7 separate regions of the Homo sapiens genome follow, and regions 2, 3, 4, 5, 6 and 7 are each linked to region 1. The links are contacts of gene promoters, found by promoter capture Hi-C in blood cells and fetal thymus (Javierre and others, 2016). All regions are on one chromosome and are shown on one strand. The core of a region is centred on a gene start or on the middle of the fragment in contact, and the rest is flanking DNA. Distances in the headings are between cores, read along the strand shown.

The links. The method cuts DNA at HindIII sites, captures the fragments that hold promoters and counts their contacts. A CHiCAGO score of 5 or more calls a contact.
Region 2: a fragment that was not itself captured here is called in contact with the fragment with the promoter of SHROOM3 in region 1 in 1 of 17 cell types (activated CD4 T cells); the score reaches 7.5 in activated CD4 T cells.
Region 3: a fragment that was not itself captured here is called in contact with the fragment with the promoter of SHROOM3 in region 1 in 1 of 17 cell types (total B cells); the score reaches 5.1 in total B cells.
Region 4: a contact is called between a fragment that was not itself captured here and the fragment with the promoter of SHROOM3 in region 1, in 7 of 17 cell types (total B cells, naive CD8 T cells, activated CD4 T cells and 4 more). The highest score is 7.3, in total B cells.
Region 5: a contact is called between a fragment that was not itself captured here and the fragment with the promoter of SHROOM3 in region 1, in 1 of 17 cell types (naive CD4 T cells). The highest score is 5.5, in naive CD4 T cells.
Region 6: a contact is called between a fragment that was not itself captured here and the fragment with the promoter of SHROOM3 in region 1, in 2 of 17 cell types (total B cells and naive B cells). The highest score is 7.7, in total B cells.
Region 7: a fragment that was not itself captured here is called in contact with the fragment with the promoter of SHROOM3 in region 1 in 1 of 17 cell types (total B cells); the score reaches 5.5 in total B cells.

The regions. Positions count from the first base shown.
Region 1 is chr4:76,433,965-76,436,489 of GRCh38, reverse strand. SHROOM3 (shroom family member 3) reads right to left here and starts at 1,261. Exons shown (of 11, transcript NM_020859.4): 1 at 270-1,261. The coding sequence starts at 437. The HindIII fragment of the contact is 11,529 bases long and covers 1-2,525 here.
Region 2 is chr4:77,428,679-77,431,203 of GRCh38, reverse strand. No RefSeq gene overlaps it. Among named protein-coding and RNA genes, the nearest start is that of CXCL13, 180 kb to the left of the region's middle. The HindIII fragment of the contact is 2,412 bases long and covers 58-2,469 here.
Region 3 is chr4:77,379,861-77,382,385 of GRCh38, reverse strand. No RefSeq gene overlaps it. Among named protein-coding and RNA genes, the nearest start is that of CCNG2, 220 kb to the right of the region's middle. The HindIII fragment of the contact is 1,426 bases long and covers 557-1,982 here.
Region 4 is chr4:77,354,403-77,356,927 of GRCh38, reverse strand. No RefSeq gene overlaps it. Among named protein-coding and RNA genes, the nearest start is that of CCNG2, 200 kb to the right of the region's middle. The HindIII fragment of the contact is 4,351 bases long and covers 1-2,525 here.
Region 5 is chr4:77,334,717-77,337,241 of GRCh38, reverse strand. No RefSeq gene overlaps it. Among named protein-coding and RNA genes, the nearest start is that of CCNG2, 180 kb to the right of the region's middle. The HindIII fragment of the contact is 2,029 bases long and covers 247-2,275 here.
Region 6 is chr4:77,304,708-77,307,232 of GRCh38, reverse strand. No RefSeq gene overlaps it. Among named protein-coding and RNA genes, the nearest start is that of CCNG2, 150 kb to the right of the region's middle. The HindIII fragment of the contact is 1,085 bases long and covers 719-1,803 here.
Region 7 is chr4:77,255,985-77,258,509 of GRCh38, reverse strand. No RefSeq gene overlaps it. Among named protein-coding and RNA genes, the nearest start is that of CCNG2, 100 kb to the right of the region's middle. The HindIII fragment of the contact is 230 bases long and covers 1,146-1,375 here.

The DNA.
Region 1 (2,525 bases), core at 12-2,511:
GGTAACTGATTGTATGCGATTTCATTCACAAAAAGAGAAGATTATCCATCAAACAGGCATATTTTTCTTCGGATTTCATAGAATAAATGAGCTAGACACATTTTTCTTTCAAATCCCAGGCTATCCAAAATATTTCTAGATAATCAGAAAGGCATGAAACAGCAAATTAAGTTATATTAAGGCAGTTCTCATTATTTTGCATTTTTGACAAATCTGACAAGTTGAAAAAAACAATTTGAATAAAGGCAATATTGGAAAAAGAAACATACCTTAGAGATGATTAATGGTTCTCCGTGCTCCAGGCCACCCTTTAGAGTAAAACCCCAGGGAGCTCCTCCCTCCAGGAATGCCTCCAGATAAATGTACCTTCCCTTGGTGGCCGTGTTAGAGTTTAATGTGGCACTAGGCTTGTGGAAGTCTTCAGTGGTCCTCATCATGCCAAACACATGATCCCTCAAGTTAAATTTAAAATGCCTGAAGCAAACTCAGGCAAGCAGTGCTTCTACAGCACAAGTTGTCCCATCCTTCAGGACACACAATGGCCAAAAGAGAGGTTTGGAGAAGCAAATTCTTCCATACGTAAAATGTTCTTCCAAGCTGAACTCCAAGATGCTGAACCAGAAGGAATTTTCACTTCAACATTTCTGAATGTAAATCCTCCTCCAGGAATTCTGGGTTCTCACTGAAGCCCCCAAGTGGTATACATCTCTACTCCGTTCGTCAAAACTTCCTTCAGTGGCGCTCTGAAGATTGCTTTTCTGAGCTTTTATTTCACACATACACACACTAAAACCATTTCTGCCTATTTTACAGAGAAAATTAAAAGCATCTTACAATATAGTAAGAAAATCACAAATACTCAAAGGAATACCTCATTTTTGATTGATTATCAACCCTTTCTTCCTCTCGGAGTGAAATTTACCATTACAATAGCCTCCTCCCTCCCCAGAAGTAGCTTAAAAAGAAAGAAAGCACTTACTATGCTTCGGCTCACTTCAGAATTTTCTAACTTGTCCCGAAGAGACAGAGAAGCTGTGCTAAAACTTTTTACTTCTTTTTTTCAACAATCAGTTCATAGTTTGTTTCTTAGGAGAGAAAAAAACTTTTGCAGGATGTAGAGAAAATGAAAAAGCACGGTAAATTAATCCTCAATGGAAAAAATATGAAGGAGGCAGCTCAGTTCTTTTCTTTGGTATTTTCAGTGATGATCAGCCACTGCTGCGGCCGCCACAGCCACTTGCCTCCTCTTGAGAGAAAGAGTAAGGAAGTTAGAGGAACATGGATTAAGGCAAAGTGAGGCATTGCAACCTTTCTGCACAGTAAGCACTGCCATGCAGAATTCAGCTCACCACAAAGACCTGACAATTCAAACAGTCTTACAGTTAATAACACGTAGGAAGTTAAAAATACTATACAGATGGCTAATTGCCAAGGGATAGAAAATAGTTCCTAGAATAGCCCCGCCTCGTACCAATTAAAGGAGAATTTCAGGGAGTGAGACATAGGCATTTGTGTTTTTAAAAACCCTCCAGGCAATTCTGCTATGCAGCCAAGTTTGAGAAGCAATGCCTAAGTGATTTGGGTAAACGTTTAAGTACATGTCAAGGTGGTGGCACAAGGGCTTTTTTTTTTTCGTTAGAAGAAAATACTACCAGTGTAATATATGAAATGGGACTTTCCAATCAAAGTTCTGCTTGTTTGACTCAATAAAAACAGGAGGTGGGTTTTTTTTTCTAGGTTTTCATTGTTATCTACTCCAAGATTGTTATCCACTCTTTAAATGAAAAGAAATCTACAATGCCTTGTGGGTAAGTACTAGGTACTCGGGAAAGAATGTTGTTCTGATTTCATGTTACCAGTGTCATTTTGTAATAATGTTATATACAAATTTAACATTCATGCTTTGTATTAAAAATTTGAACAGTAGAAGATAACCATATCTAACCCAGAAGCCTCAGCTATTTAGTTATTGGAACAGATTAGAATTACTTCCAGGTAATATATGTACTAAAACTTTTTTCTGTTTAAAAGTATGGGATAATGAGAATTAAGTTGAAAACTGAAGTTAAAAACTACTGTGGGGCTTGATAACAATTATTTTGGTGTTTGTACTTATAATTAATGAAAGGCTGATATGGAAAGGCAGGTATATGATATCAAACTACACGATATTTAATTTACAACACTGGACAGGTATTGTTTGATTTTCAATGGTAACTTCACTTGAAGGGCTCAAAGACAAAAAAAAAAAAAAAAAAGTAAAACCTTATGTAATGGTAGTATGTGAATGGAAACATAAGGAAACCTAAGGTGTACCAAATGAAAGTATGTGGTAAAAATTGGCTGATTCTTAAGGGTAATTTACGCAATTTCTATTGTGGTTTTCTTTTACAGCTTAATTTGTAAGTTAGAATAAATGGAGAAACATTAGCTTTTCTTTCATTTCAAAGAACATATGTATTTTAAATAAAAGTCCTAGGTAAATGAACAGCTTTCTTTCTGAAAAAATTAATTTATGAGGCTCT
Region 2 (2,525 bases), core at 14-2,513, 990 kb before region 1:
GCAAAGCACCTTGAATGGTAGCAGAGCCTTCTCTTGTTCTGGGACCTATTCAAAGCTTATAGCTTTGAGTAACTTGGTAAGTGAGCTGGAGTAGCATACCTCAGTAAGATATGTTTCTGCGAAGATCCGAGAAGGCCAATTAGGCATTGTGCCTCTTTGGGCAGTAGGAGGAGCCATTTGCAATAAACTTTTGCCTTAGATGTACCTAAGGTGCCCCATACCACTGGGCCTTTGGAAATTTCACTTAAGTGAATGCCCTTTGATTTTCGGTGGCATTTATTTTCTAGTGTCATGCAAATGTCTTAATCCTATGTCTAGATTAGTTACTACTTCCTGATCACAAGGCCCAATCAGCATATCATTAATATGATTAACCAGCATATATTATGGAAAGGAAATGTAATCAAGATCTGTGGACTATGACATAGGGATAGAGTTGATACCCTAAGGTAGAATCGTGAAAACATATTGTCATGCTAGCTGAAAGCAAATTGCTTTTGATGGTTTTTACTAACAGGTATAGAAAATGTATTTGCCAAATCAATAGCTGCATACCAGGTACCAAAAGGTTGTATTAATTTTCTCGAATAACAAATCACATCTTCAACAGTAACTAGAGTCACCACTTGACTAAGTTTGACAATCCTGAACTGTCATTCTCCAGAATCTGTCTTCTGCATAAGCCAAATAGGCAAGTTAAGAATGTGGCAAGAAGCAGTATCCCTGCAACTTTCAAGTCCTTGATATTGGCACTGTTCTCTAGAATATGGTACTGCTTTTGGTTCACTGTTTTTGTAGGTAGAGGTAGTACTAATGACTTCCACTTAGCCTTTGCTACCAAAAAGTCTTCATTCTACAGGTCAGGGAACACACAAGGGGATTCTATTAGTTGCTGGGTATGTCTGTTATAAATATACATTCCAGACTGGGGGAATAACCACAGGATGAGTTTGGGGACCCACTTGACCCACACTGTGAATTGACCCTTAGCTAAAATTCTATGACCTGACCTTCATAAGCCTCTCCCTTCTGTACTGCAGTGATATTTTGGGTTTACAGGAGTTACTGTCAGTTCATAGTGTCTAGTTATCCCTGAGAAGCCTGATTATCTTCCTTTCCCTAGTGCATCGTCACACTGATAAGCCCTTTTGGGGAAGGCTGGAAAAAATATTAACAGTATGAACTTTTAGTCATACAGCAATATCATTCCTCAAAGAGACCAAGTCTCCCCTTCAAACGATTCTTGGTCTGAACTAGTTGATGTTTGGGAATTGATTGAGGGGCTGTGACTTTTGCTGATTCAAGTTAGACCATTTACTAGAACTCTTACTTATGCTGTTCAAGAATTTACTTTTCTATTACTTTTCTAGGGATATCGTGTTCAATCAGTGAATAGCATGGGTCTCCGAGTCAGTCTATTCTGATTACTGCTTTGGTTTTACACTAATTATTCCTGCCTGTCTCTGGTGTTTAAGTACTACCACCTAGCTTCTCCTACCCTAAGATTCCATTATCCCTATTGTATTTAAGGGTGGCAGTTTCATGGTAGCAGTTCCCAGTGTAATTTCTGACCTACAGAGAATGACAACCAAGCTCTTAGAAGGGTGCTGGGACACTCAAATTTCTCAAAGTAATAAAAAGCAGGTCCTCTAGACCCTCCTGGGGTAGGTAAAAGGGTCTTATGTGACAAATCCATTACAGGATTCCTACCTCCCTAAGCCTTCTGATACCCTTCCTCTAGAGGAGGCCCACACATGTCTAGCATTTCAACTTCATTTAGTGTAGGCCACCTTTGGGTCCACATTTTAAACAGACAGAACACTTTATAACCCCTAAAGCTAAAATAAACCTAGAATCTGTGCTTAATGGACACATGAATAAATTTAGCTTGATCCAACTTTATATTCTTTTCATCATGACCCCTCTCTGAAGATTCATTCCTACATATTCCCTGTATTTCTGTATAAAAATAAGGAAAAGTCATGCAGCTATTTTGAGATTGTGCATCTCCTCATGGGTCATACTTTGTACTTCACCCTTTAGGAGCTTTTGGAACATGAGTCTAAGTCTGGAAACAGATGCCAGGAATATACCCTAAGGAGAATCAGTGGTGCCTTGCAAAGCAACAACCTCAGACAATGGAGAGCTAACCACCCTGGGCAGGGGTAGAAGTGCTGTTTTTACCAGCCAAGGAAAATCCACAGAATTTAGGAATCTGATGTCCCCAGCTTCATTGGAATCTGCCCAAATTTCTCTATTCAGAATCCTATTTCTTTTCAATCAATGCTCTCACTTAAACAGAAGTCATCTGATGAGGCTGGGAATCCAATTCACATCGGAATTCAATCACTCACTGGATGTGATACTCTGGGTTTGACTTTTGGAAATCTTGACCCTGCAGCTATAGCAGATAAAGGGTCATTTCAGGACAGATATGAAAGTTCAGGTTATTTATACAGAGATTAAGCTTAGAATTTGAAGGCTTAAGCTCAGCCTTTTCTTTCCCAACTTTCTCCAAGGCTGTT
Region 3 (2,525 bases), core at 20-2,519, 950 kb before region 1:
CCTTAGACACTCCGAAGGCTACTCCATTCAAAGGGAGACCATCTAAGTCAGGGAGATGACTAGGCCCATTCCTCTATTACCCTAACATGATGGATAGTAACTGTACTCCACATCGATGTGATATCTGAGGTATACGAATTCTTTCTTCCAAACAATAATCCTTACCCTCTTCCAATCCTAGTATTTCAAGATTTGTCAAGTTACTACCTCCCATTTGCTCTGGGCCAATTATTTTGGATCCCAGTTCTGTTCTTATGTTCTACTATGAGCAGTATCTTTCTACCCTTGACTCAAGTGAACTCATGACTTTCCTTGGTGAGGCTCTCTACTTATGGCTTCCATTTATGCCTCACAGAGCACCTCATCAATGAACATCCAGAACAAAAGCAGCCAGAGGAACCCAGACTGACCAGAGTGCAGGATTCATGTGTTTTGATTAAAGGATTGTTGAATTCAGACTGACTGGGACCCACATAACTGTCAAAATATGTTCTTTATCATGATGCCACTCAGCTAATCCTCCAGTGTGCATGCTGCTGCCATTTCATTTAAAGCTTCTACCAAACATTGTTAACTGACTTGTTTTTTTCTGAATGTCAGACTCAACCACAGCAGCAAGAATTTCAAGGAAAATTGGATTTTCACATTGGTTCTAGTCAAAGAGGAACCTGAGAAAACAGAACCTAGTGTTTCTTCAACTGCAGATGTTAAGCTAAAGAAGCCTAGACAAAGTTTATCTTCCTCAAATGAGTAAATCAAAGTTTGTCCAAAACCAAGTCATAAAATACCAATCCCCACTTGCCAAATGTTTTGCCCCCCACCAATAAAGTGAAAAGATGAGGTACAACATTTTGCAGAACTGGTGCCAACAATTTACTCTGATGACCAATGGACAGAAAACAGGTTTGTCAGAGACTTGTGCCTCTGCTTACAGAAAGCAAAACTATGTGTGAGGCTCATGGTGGAGGTATGAAGGGTACTCCTGAAACACAGGGGGCCAAATTGTAGTCTTATTTGATTGGCAGTGAACAAAACAGCAAGGCTTCAAAAAAGATGAGTAGGGGAAGGGACTAATAGATTTGAGGTTACAATATCAGCTCGGGACGTCATGTTGGCACCACATGCAAGAATGACTGCAAGACCTAGTCACACTAAGGCTATAGATTCACATTTCATTCCTTCTTAGAAGACTTCTTGATGCAACTTTCTAGATCAGGTGATGGTGTATGGTCCACAGCAAACCCCTTTCCACAGACATAAAGGATTGGGTTTACCTAGTTTCATGCATGTCAGTCTCAGGAGAACTTCTGTTACCAACCTGCACTTTCCCATCCCCAGACCTAGAATATGCTATGCCTTGAATGTGCTAAGAGGATAAAGATGAAGAGATCAAAGACAATGGGGGAAGGAAAAGAAACATAGTTTTAACACACCATGGGAGACTATAATATGCCACCCCAGAAAATCTATAAGCTGAAGTACATGACTGTGAACAGAAGGCAATGAAGCAGCAGATAAGAGAGAGTTCATTCCTTAAAACAATGTATCCAGCTTTACTTACTAGGCTTTATCTACCATGTGTTTACTCTCCCACAACTTGCCATCCCTGGAGACTCAGGGTCCTGTTCCATTGTCTTTCCACTTCTCTAACTGTACTACTCTTTGTGTCAGAGACCACTCATCATCCAGCAAGGCCTCTCTGTACTTTATGCCTCCCACAGCTTCGACTCCCTCATGCTTATGTTTTTGAGTTACAAGTAACCCAGCAATGTGTCATGAAGCAATGTGTCCAGGGAATTCAGCAATGAATCTGAAGAAGGACTGGCAGATCTACACTGACTGCCCCTCTGACATGCATTACAATGGTCTTTGTTATTAAAAAAAAAAAAAAAAAAAAAAAAAAAGCCTGGGGAGCCCTCTGGTCACCAGTTATCATAAACAGAGACCTTAAACCAAAGCATATAGTCATCTGGATACAAGCTTTCAAGGATAAAAGGAAACTGAGGCAATTGAACCAACTAGAAGGTTAAAGATATTCCTGAGAACAATATGCTAGGTATCGAGAAACTAACCTAGATTCCCCTGAAGTAGTTTTCTGCCCATTGCTGGCTTGTCTCACATGTGACATGCTTCATTCTAACTTCTAGTCATTTCTTCCAGTGTTTTGTCATCCTAGATACGTATTTTATCCTCTTTTCCTTGTTTCCTGCCTAGTGCTGGCTCCTCACTGAGGGAATTTGTGTGTCTTTCACCTGTCCAGTCCAAGCAGACAAATGTCTTGAAAGCCAAAGTTGGTTCTACCTCCTGAATTCAGGAAAAGCCTTGCCCTCTGTGGGTTTACCAGTGGTCTAGATAGAGTCCAAGAGCTGGCTTTATACATTCAGGGAGGCCAGAAAGGATCCCAACACACAGCCACCAAACTGGTCAGGGTAGAGAAGATGCCAAATATCTATCTTCCCATCAGTGAGGGGCTTGGAATTCAGTCATTTTTCTCTGCACTGGTATATCTTCTGTGAGACCTGAAA
Region 4 (2,525 bases), core at 12-2,511, 920 kb before region 1:
AGATAGAGGGTAGCTTTTTAAGTTTTAAACCCTGGACCTATCTATTATCAAAGCAAAGAAAGTCTGCCTAGTGGTCCAAACCATCTGGGGCATGGATATAGCATGCCAAGCTAATTTGGTCAATTTTGCAAGCTATAGACATGACATGTGAGAGGCATACAGACCACCCCCGCTAGACGTACCATAAAGCGGTTCAGAACACTTAGACCCTATAAACAGTAACTTCTTACATTAATCCTAGGTAGGTTAAAAGAATGGAAGTGATCGTGTAGTGGTCTCAGAATAGAACACAGTCTTGTCACTTCATGGCTTCTGTCTTGTCAAGCATCTAGTGCTGAAAGAGCTCAGATTCATCTGGGGCTCAGTAGGAAAGGTAGGGCCTGAGCAAGAAAGCCACACTGAGCATATCCACACATGAACTCAGGCAAGAGACTAAAGAGGGTAGACAGCTCCACCAGATCACTGGATTGAGGGCATGGGAATGTACCACCAGATCCCCTTCAACAAGGGCTTGTTACCGCAACTGCTTGGAGCACAGCCAGCAGCCTCCAGCCATCACCTCTACAGAGTTTGCCTCAGTTCCAAGGGCATGCCCCTTCCCCTAGCAGCCCTCATCCACTTGCTGACTACAGACATATGCAGGCCAGCAATCTCAGGCCACCATGATACAACCATGATAGGCCACCATGGAACAACCATGATGGGTCACATGCATGCCGACACTGGCCAAGGCACTTCTGGGCCCCACACTACAGTTAGCCCTATCCTGCTTTCCCATCTCTTAGACACAATTTGATCTCTAAATACCATACTTCATGCCAAATTCCACTTCAACCTGTTTCTAAACAGCCCAACCTGCAACACAGGCAAAATGGCTTTGAAGAGTATGAGTCTTCTCTCCTATGCCTGGGATGCCTAAACATGTAGTCTTCTTCAACTCTGGAACATTCAAGTGGCATGTTCTGCCCTATGCTGGCACCCCTGACACGTCATGGTTATGAATTCCTCTTGTTTCTGTAGTTACACCCTAACTCTCCCGCCTATTATAGCACTAGATTCCAGTGATCTTACCTCTAGATGGTTTCTTGCCTAGTGTATGGCTCTTTTCCAAGAACATTTCCTGCCTGGTTCATTTATCCAACCTAATACATACACATCTGAGAAACCAGAGTTTGTTTTACCTCCTTGAATTATAAAGTACCATTCACTATGGGCTCAATGGCCTATATAGAGTCCAAGAACTGGCTTTGTACATGCAGTGATGCCAAGGAGGATCCACACTGAGCCACTCAACTAGTAGTGGGAAGTGGAGGATGAGATATTCATCTCTACACCAGTGGAGTCCTCAAAGAAGAGTGCTAGAAAGTGATGCTGCATAATCCATGAGACCTTAAAAAACAATGTTAAATTTACGTAAGCAGAATATGTACCTGTAAGATAAAAAAAAAAAACACACTTTGCCAAGTCAGAACTCACTTTTAAACCTAGACCAAAACTTGAGCTTAATTACCTTATGTAGTTGTTTGCCTGTAAGTTCAACATATGGTAACAGGGACCATAACCCCAAGGAAGTCTTAGACAAAACTCTGAGAACTGCCTTGACTAGTATAATACACTGTTTAAATGCTCCAGACAGCATTTTCCAGTTGATGTAATGTCCCGTGTAATGAACCCAAGTGCCATAGACTTCCTTTGCTATCTGAAGTTACCATCTGCTCATTCATTATCTTCGGCAAGATTTTTTAGATCTGACACTACACAAATAGAAAATACACCGAGATGACCCTTTGGGTGTTTACCAGCAGATTCAGCTGCACACAAGTGCAGGGAAGAAAATCAGTGAGCTGCCGTGTGCTCTGCTGTGTCCCCACATCTCATATTCATTGTTTACTATGCTGTATAACCAATATTCTTCACATTAAGAGAAACACTAAGTGAGCCTGAGAGGCCTAGGAAGGCTCACTTGCATAGAACTTGTGTGCAGTAAAACACATGCATGGTGAAAACAGACTCTAGGACATGAACTTATTCTTTCACACAAAGTATTTTCTACACCCAGGAGATAAGTGTGGACACATTGGTTCTGGGAATGTACCATGCTGCTCCAGCATGGGTCCTTCTGAAAGACATGCCACCCTCCACTACTGTGGCCCTCAGCCACTTGGGTGTTTGCCGTTGACACAGGAAGCAGCTGACTCTGGCACTTTGTTCTGCTCCAGCACTTCAGCATCTGTTCCCCACTGAGGTCCTCTAAGCACCTTCTACTTGGAGTCATTTGCTTTGAGACCATTCTTTGAGCTTAACCCATTATCTCCCCAAACCTGCCTCCATCTACAGCTGTATGTTCCACACAGCTGTTTTAAGCAAAAAAGATTCCTATCAATTGTATGTGACACGGGAGCCAGAGTGAAGGCCCAAAGGGAGAACTTGCTATTACCATTTTTCTGCTTAGGTTTAATGAAGCATGGACAGCTGTGTCCAACTGTGATTGGACAAGGGCATGACCTAATGCCCACAGACTGAGT
Region 5 (2,525 bases), core at 12-2,511, 900 kb before region 1:
TTGAGGAACTAAAACATCTGCTCATAACTGCCCCTGTTTTAGCTCTGCCTTCCCTAGAGAAGCCATTTCACTTTTTTGTTAGCATAGATAGGGAGGTAGCTTTAGGGGTACTTAACCAAGAAGATAGGGTCACCAGAAACTCATAGTTTTCCTATTGAGAGTTTTAGATCCAGTAGCCTGTGGATGGCCTGAATGTATTCAATCCATCACAGCTACCACCTTGTTAACTAAAGTAAGCAGAAAGCTTGCCTTTGGGGGAAACTTAGTTGTAAGCATGCCCCATCAGGTTAGAACTATCTTGAATCAGAAGGCAGGAAGATGGCTCACTGACCAAGAATTTTAAAGTATGAAGCTATCCTGTTAGAAAGACACGATTTAACCCTAACAACTGATAATTCATTTAACCCAGCAAGTTTCCTGACTGGGAATCAAATCTAAAGAGACCTGAGCATGAATGTTTAGATTTAATTATCATACAAAAGTTAGGCCTGATTTAAGAGAGACCCCTTTCAAAATGGGGCAGCACTTATAGATGGCTCTTCCTGAGTAATTGAAGAAAAGAGACATAATGGGTACCCAGTAGTCATGGGGAAGCCCTTGAAATAGTCAGAAAGACTGCCCATTAATTGGTCTGCCCAAACATGTGAATTGTTTGCATTAAATCAAGCCTTAAGGCACTTGCAGAACAAGAAGAGACTATTTACACTGATTCCAAGTACGCCTTCGGGGTAGCTCACACCTTTGGAAAAATTTGGACTGAATGAGGTCTTATTAACAAAGGCCAAGACCTGGTCCACAAAGAATTAATCACTCAGGTATTAGATAACTTCCAGTTACCAGAAGAAATAGCTATTGTCCATGTTCCAAGACATCAGAAAGGTATCGCTTTTGAAGGCCAAGGGAATAACCTTGCATATCAAATAGCCAAACAAACTGCCACTTCCTCTGAAATGCCTGTTTTTCACTTAGCCCCTTGTCTTCCTCCCCCAACTGCAATCCCCATTTCTTCTCCCGCTGAAAAAGATAAAAATAGGGAACAAAGAAAATTCATAAGGGAAATGGGTGTTACCAGATCAAAGAGAAATGTTATCCAAACTCCTCATGAGAGAAGTTCTCTCTCGTCTGCATTAAGGGACTCATTTGGGGACCTCAAGCTACATATGTTGCAGGCCTCCGGGTTTATAGGAATGTATAAGAATTTATACTTTAGCAAGACAGGTTACAGATAGTTGCCTAGTATGTAAGAAAATTAATAAGCAGACCCTCAGAAAACCACCTCTTGGGAGAAATCCAGGATTAAGACCATTCCAAAGTGTCCAAGTTGATTACACCAAAATGCCCCCAATCGGTCACTTAAAATATTAGTGATAGTAGATCACCTTACTCATTGGGTAGAAGCTATTCACCCTTTTCAAGTCCAACTGCTAACAATGCAGTCAAGACATTTGTTGAAAATACTATACCCAGGTTCAGATTAATAGAAAATGTTGATTCAGATAATAGGACTCATTTCACTACAAATGTCATTAAGAAACTAGCCCAAGTACTGGATATAACATGGGACTACCATATCCCCTGGCACCCACCTTCATCAGGAAGAGAAGAATGAACTAGACTCTGAAGAAACACCTAACCAAATTAGTCCTAGAGATTCAATTACCGTGGATTAAATGCCTTTCCATTGTCTTGTTGAGAATCTGAACTGCCCCTCCAAAAGATGTTGGCTTACCCCTTATGAAATGCTGTTTGGGTTGCTTTGTTTACACTCCACTGCTGACATTCCTACATTTGAAACAAAAGATCTATTCCCCAAAAACTATATACTTGGTCCATCCTCCACTTTCTCTTCCCTTAGAACCAAAGGCCTCCTAGCACAGAGGCCACCCCTCGAATTTCCAGTTCACCACCACCAGCCTGGAGACAACGTCCTCATCAAGGGTTGGAAAGAAGGGAAGCTCGAGCCCACCTGGGAGGGATCCTATCTAGTGCTTCTAAGGACCAAGAACAGCTGTCTGCACCACCAAAAAGGGATGGCTCATCACACTCAGGTCAAAGGAAGACCACCTCCTCCACAATCATGGACAGCTATTCCAGGGCCAGCTCCAACCAAGTTAAAGCTAAAACAGGTTTGATCCTCTTATGTTTTATTTCTTTTTCCCTTCTATTGCTAGTCACACTTTAGTATCAATGTAACCAGATCTAGCTCTCCTCAAACCATTACCTTTGATGCTTGTCTTGTCATGCCCTGTGGACATCTCCAAAGCCAAAGAAAGCTTGCCTCTTCAGAAAGGTACCCTTGCCATTCCAGGATAAATAAGACTGCCTACAAAACTGACTCTTGCACCAAGCAAGCACAAAGCAGTTATTGGAAGTTCTGTCCTAGTTGGGAAGATTTGGTCTGGACCACCAAGTATCAAGGCTGGACCTCCCCGGGAGGAGATTGCACTGACCTAAAGCCTTACATCCACTTTACCAGAGAGAGAGAACTCCCTCCAATTTTCAACTCCAACAATGTAACCCTGTGC
Region 6 (2,525 bases), core at 12-2,511, 870 kb before region 1:
TATCACCTTGGGTTTTAGTGGCATGCCCATCTTGATAGTATGCCCATCCCTTCACAATCTATGGTAGTCATGGGAATGTAGGCAGGGAAATGGGATGCCCTAATATGCTCAAGTCATCCAGACCTATGGCTGAGAATGACCAAGGATATAAACAGTATATGAAATAATCTCCAAAACAAAGTCAGCAGTCATTTGGCTGACAATAGGGAAACAAATGTTGAGACAGCATCGGAAAAGTGTCTGCTGTAGGACATAAACCTAGTGTAGGATCAGTGTGAGTTTATAATGCTTTTTTCACCCTTCTGTATCAACCTGGATTCAGATTTACCAGTCTACCCAGAACTCTTCTGTAACTTCACTGCCACATGAGGCTTCTATAGAGAACCTCTTTTTGTGGGATGAAGGCTCTCCTGCAGCTCCTGTTTTCTCACAGGCATCTATTGCAACAGAAAGAACAGACAGACTAACAGATACAGAATACCTTGGCCAGCTGCATGTATTCCCAAGCTTGAACCAAAGCCAGGGTCCTTGAATATTCTCAGGCACTGACGAACTTGTTTAGGCTGTTGCATCAAGCATGTTGATTAACACGTAAAGGCTAGCCCCATGCCTAGTCAAATTCTGAAGACTCAAAACACTAACCTGTCCCACTCATTGGGGACATACCCAAGATACCCTTTCACTATCCACAAGGATCCCTGCATTTTGTAAGCAAGCTTCCTGGTAGGTGTTTTAGATTTATCCCCCTGGCATTTAGTGCATTTGGATTCCCAGCTGGCCCCATCTTGGGATGGTGGGCAAGTCCCATGAGTGAACTCCCCAGCTGTTGCTTTTGGGGCAACTCCAGGTAGTGGGTTGGCTGACAGAACATGAAATAAGTTCTTGCAGCTTAGGTGGTACACTGGTAAGCATAGCTGCCTTCCAGTAAGTTCCTACATGTACAATCCTGCCTCAGTATGGGGTTCTCACAGGACCAACAACTCGTTAGTTTTCCCCCAACCCTGACTCAAGACCCCAGAACCCAGAAAGGCCCTTATACTTCGTTTAAAACTCCATGTTTAGGTACCTGCCTCTGATAGAGGCAGTCTTATGTTCAGTTCATTTCTAACCAAGTCTCTGCCTTATACTGAAATACAATCCAAGCAGACCTAGCCTGGAAACCCACACGTGGGTACAAGAAGAATCATCCAGATTATAAGAGTGAGGCTCGAATCAGTTTGTAGAGATCAAAGTGATGAGTATGTCAACAATTGCATTGTTGCATAATTACCAGGAGGTGGCAGAGAATGAGTTTCAATTCTGACCCAAGATCAACTCCAGCCACAGGAGCCACATTGCATCCCACCATCTTTCCTCAGTTTCCCCTCAAGAACAGGAGCCTGTGGGACAGTTACTTCTGTCAACTTGTACAGATAAGTGTACCTGTGCAGCACAGTGGCCACCTGTGGAGCCATTAGAATGCCATACATCCCATGTGTGGTCGTTTCCAACTGATGCCCAGGTGCAGCTGGGATGCTAAGGCCGTCCTATTTAGGACACTCACCACTCCTCTAATGGGCAATCTGGGCTCTAGTATTTGCCATCGGCCTTGCCAAGGCACTTAGTATCACCTCAGTCTAAGCTACTTCCTATCCAGTATTTTCCTTCACAGGGCCTGACCTGCATTATAAGTGGATCTACACCCAGATCTTTCCAGCTTCCTCTCCTGTATCCCTCACAGAACTTTCTCCTCCCACAACTCAAACATTCAATTCCTTTTTGGCATCTGCATGTATGAGGCCACAAGGCAGCAATGAAAAAGCTTTTAATTTCAACTAGGCACACTCAGGTACATTCAGATGTGAAAGCAAGCTTGTGTATCACTGTACACACTCCCAAGACTGCTTTATTCAAAAGAAATAGATGCTCAGAGCCAGCCACATCTCATAAAACATGGAGGAACTCAGTGATCAGTTAATAGCCATGTCCTATGGACTCAGATACTACACCCTAGAGTCACTATGTGTCTCCTTCAGAGGAAGGAAAGCCCAAATACCCTGATCAACTTTTTTTGACCTATCTGGTCAAATAAGCCAGTGAAGAGACCTACAAAAGTGCCTTCTAGCCTTTAGGTGCAGGACTTGCTTTCATGTGCATTTCTAGAGTGATTTTTTACCAGTTGGGATCAGTTGAGTTCCTGAATGTCGGTAATAGGAAGGAAGAGCTTCTAATAGGAGACTGCTATAAGTAAAGAGCAGTGCTTTACTGAGCTGAATGGGTAGATGCATTTTACCTCCCCGTGCTTTATAAAGACTGGCAAGTGCTAGCCAACTTTTCACCAGGCCAAGGCTCTGTAACCCTTTCTTCCTGAGCCTGACCCACATGTAACAGTTGATCCATTTGAGAGTCAAGTATAGAATATAGTTTTGCCAGAGAAGTAACATCAATACTCCATTCCACAGTCTGTAGCACCAGAAATGGTTCATGGAAGCTCCCCCTTGAATGTCAAGACAATTCTGTAGTTAAGTGGAATCAGGCCCTTCATC
Region 7 (2,525 bases), core at 11-2,510, 820 kb before region 1:
TTAAATAGGAAATCCTTTCCTTATTTCTTGTTTTTGTCAGGTTTGTCAAAGATCAGATAGTTGTAGATATGTGGCATTATTTCTGAGAGCTCTGTTCTGTTCCATTGGTCTGTATCTGCTTTGGTACAAGTACCATGCTGTTTTGGTTACTGTAGCTTTGTGGTATAGTTTGAAGTCAGGTAGTGTGATGCCTCCAGCTTTGTTCTTTTGGCTTAGGATTTACTTGGCAATCTGGGCTCTTTTTTGGTTCCATATGAACTTTAGTTTTTTCCAATTCTGTGAAGAAAGTCATTGGTAGCTTGATGGGGATGGCATTGAATCTATAAATTACCTTGGGCAGTATGGCCATTTTCATGATATTGATTCTTCCTACCCATGAGCATGGAATGTTCTTCCATTTGTTTATATCCTCTTATTTCATTGAGCAGTGGTTTGCAGTTCTCCTTGAAAAGGTCCTTCACATCCCTTGTAAGTTGGATTCCTAGGTATTTTATTCTCTTTGAAGCAATCGTGAATGGGAGTTCACTCATGATTTGGCTCTCTGTCTATTATTGATGTATAAGAATGCTTGTGATTTTTGCACTTTGGTTTTGTATCCTGAGACTTTGCTGAAGATGCCTGTCAGCTTAAGGAGATTTTGGGCTAAGACGATGGTGTTTTCTAGATATACAATCATGTCATCTGCAAACAGAGACAACTTGACTTCCTCTTTTCCTAATTGAATACCCTTTATTTCCTTCTCCTGCCTGATTGCCCTAGCCAGAACTGCCAACACTATGTTGAATAGGAGTGGTGAGAGGGCATCCCTGTCTTGTGCCAGTTTTCAAAGGGAATGCTTCCAGTTTTTGCCCATTCAGTATGATATTGGCTGTGGGTTTGTCATAGATAGCTCTTATTATTTTGAGATATGTCCCATCAGTACCTAATTTATTGAGAGTTTTTAGCATGAAGGGTTGTTGAATTTTGTCAAAGGCCTTTTCTGCATCTATTGAGATAATCATGTGGTTTTTGTAGTTGGTTCTGTTTATATGCTGGATTACATTTGTTGATTTGCGTATGTTGAACCAGCCTTGCATCCCAGGGATGAAGCCCACTTGATCATGGTGAATACTGGCAAACCGAATCCAGCAGCACATCAAAAAGCTTTTCCACCCACCATGGATTTAAGTCATCCTTTGTCTAGGGTATCCACACCTAGCACACTACCCAGCCATTAGTTATTATTTGTTACTAAGTCAACTTCTGTGGCATTGTAGTGTTCGTCTTCCAGCAACCCTTATTTTACCTAAGTCCCAAGGTATACTAGTAGTGATGCTGGTATGTTATAGTTTTATTTTCTTATTAATCTTAGTGTGCCCAATTCATCTGTTAAGCTTTGTGTATGTATGCTTTGTGTATAGGTGCATATGTACAGAGAAAATACAGTGTATATAGGGTTAGGCATCTACAAGGTGGCCAGGGGGGAGTGGTTCTTGGATCATATCCTTGACATCAGGAGGACTACGATGCTTCCAAGCTCACTCAGTGGTAAGCTCCAGCTCTTCAGCCTGTTGGGCTCCAAGTTTCTGCTCCTTGCCATCATATGTGGGCCATTCAGTGGGGTGGCTCAAACACAGCAGCTTAGTTCTCCTAGAACACATGTTCTAAGACAAGGAGTAAGGGAAGTGATATGGTATTGTTGTGTCCCCACCCACATCTCATCTTGAATTCCCATGTGTTGTGGGAGGGATCAAGTGGGGGGTAATTGAATCATGGGGGCAAGTCTTTCCTGTGCCGTTCTCATAATAGTGAGTAAGTCTCATAATATCTGATGGTTTTATAAAGGGGAGTTTCCTTGTACAAGTTCTCTTGTCTGCCACCATGTGAGACATGCATTTCACCTTCTACCATGATTGTGAGGCCTCCCCAGCCACATGGAACTATGAGTCCATTAAAACTTCTTTCTTCCCAGTCTTGGGTATGTCTTCATCAGAAGCATGAAAATGGACTGATACAGGAAATCTAAGACAGTAGCTAGTATCTAACCATGTATTTGGAGGGACCTGCCACTTCTTCCATTGTCACTTCATCAAGCAGCAAGCCACTATATCTACTCTCAAGAGAAGGGGCTTAACACAAGCTGGAATACCAGGAGTCAAGGATCACTGGGGGCCAGCTCAGAGGCTTCCCACCTCACATGGACTATGCCATCTCCCACTCACTGGGTCATCTCTATTGTCTTGCACTTTGCCTTGTGGCTTAGCTATTCTAAGTGCCACACCTTTGTAGATCTCAGAATTAGGCACACTGCTATTGAAGGGCATGAAAGTTCTCATCCCTATGAAGGTCAGTCCAATTGATGTCCCACTTGAGAAAGAAGGGTCTGACATGATTTGGGATATTGGTCAGTTCTTTAAACATTGTGTTAACATGCAGCTTCCCAGAACTCCAGCCCATTACAGTGCTGTTATATACTGTAAAATGGATTCTACCCTGAAGCTGCTACTCCAGGAATCATAGGCTTCACAAAGGAGATCCCTCCCTTC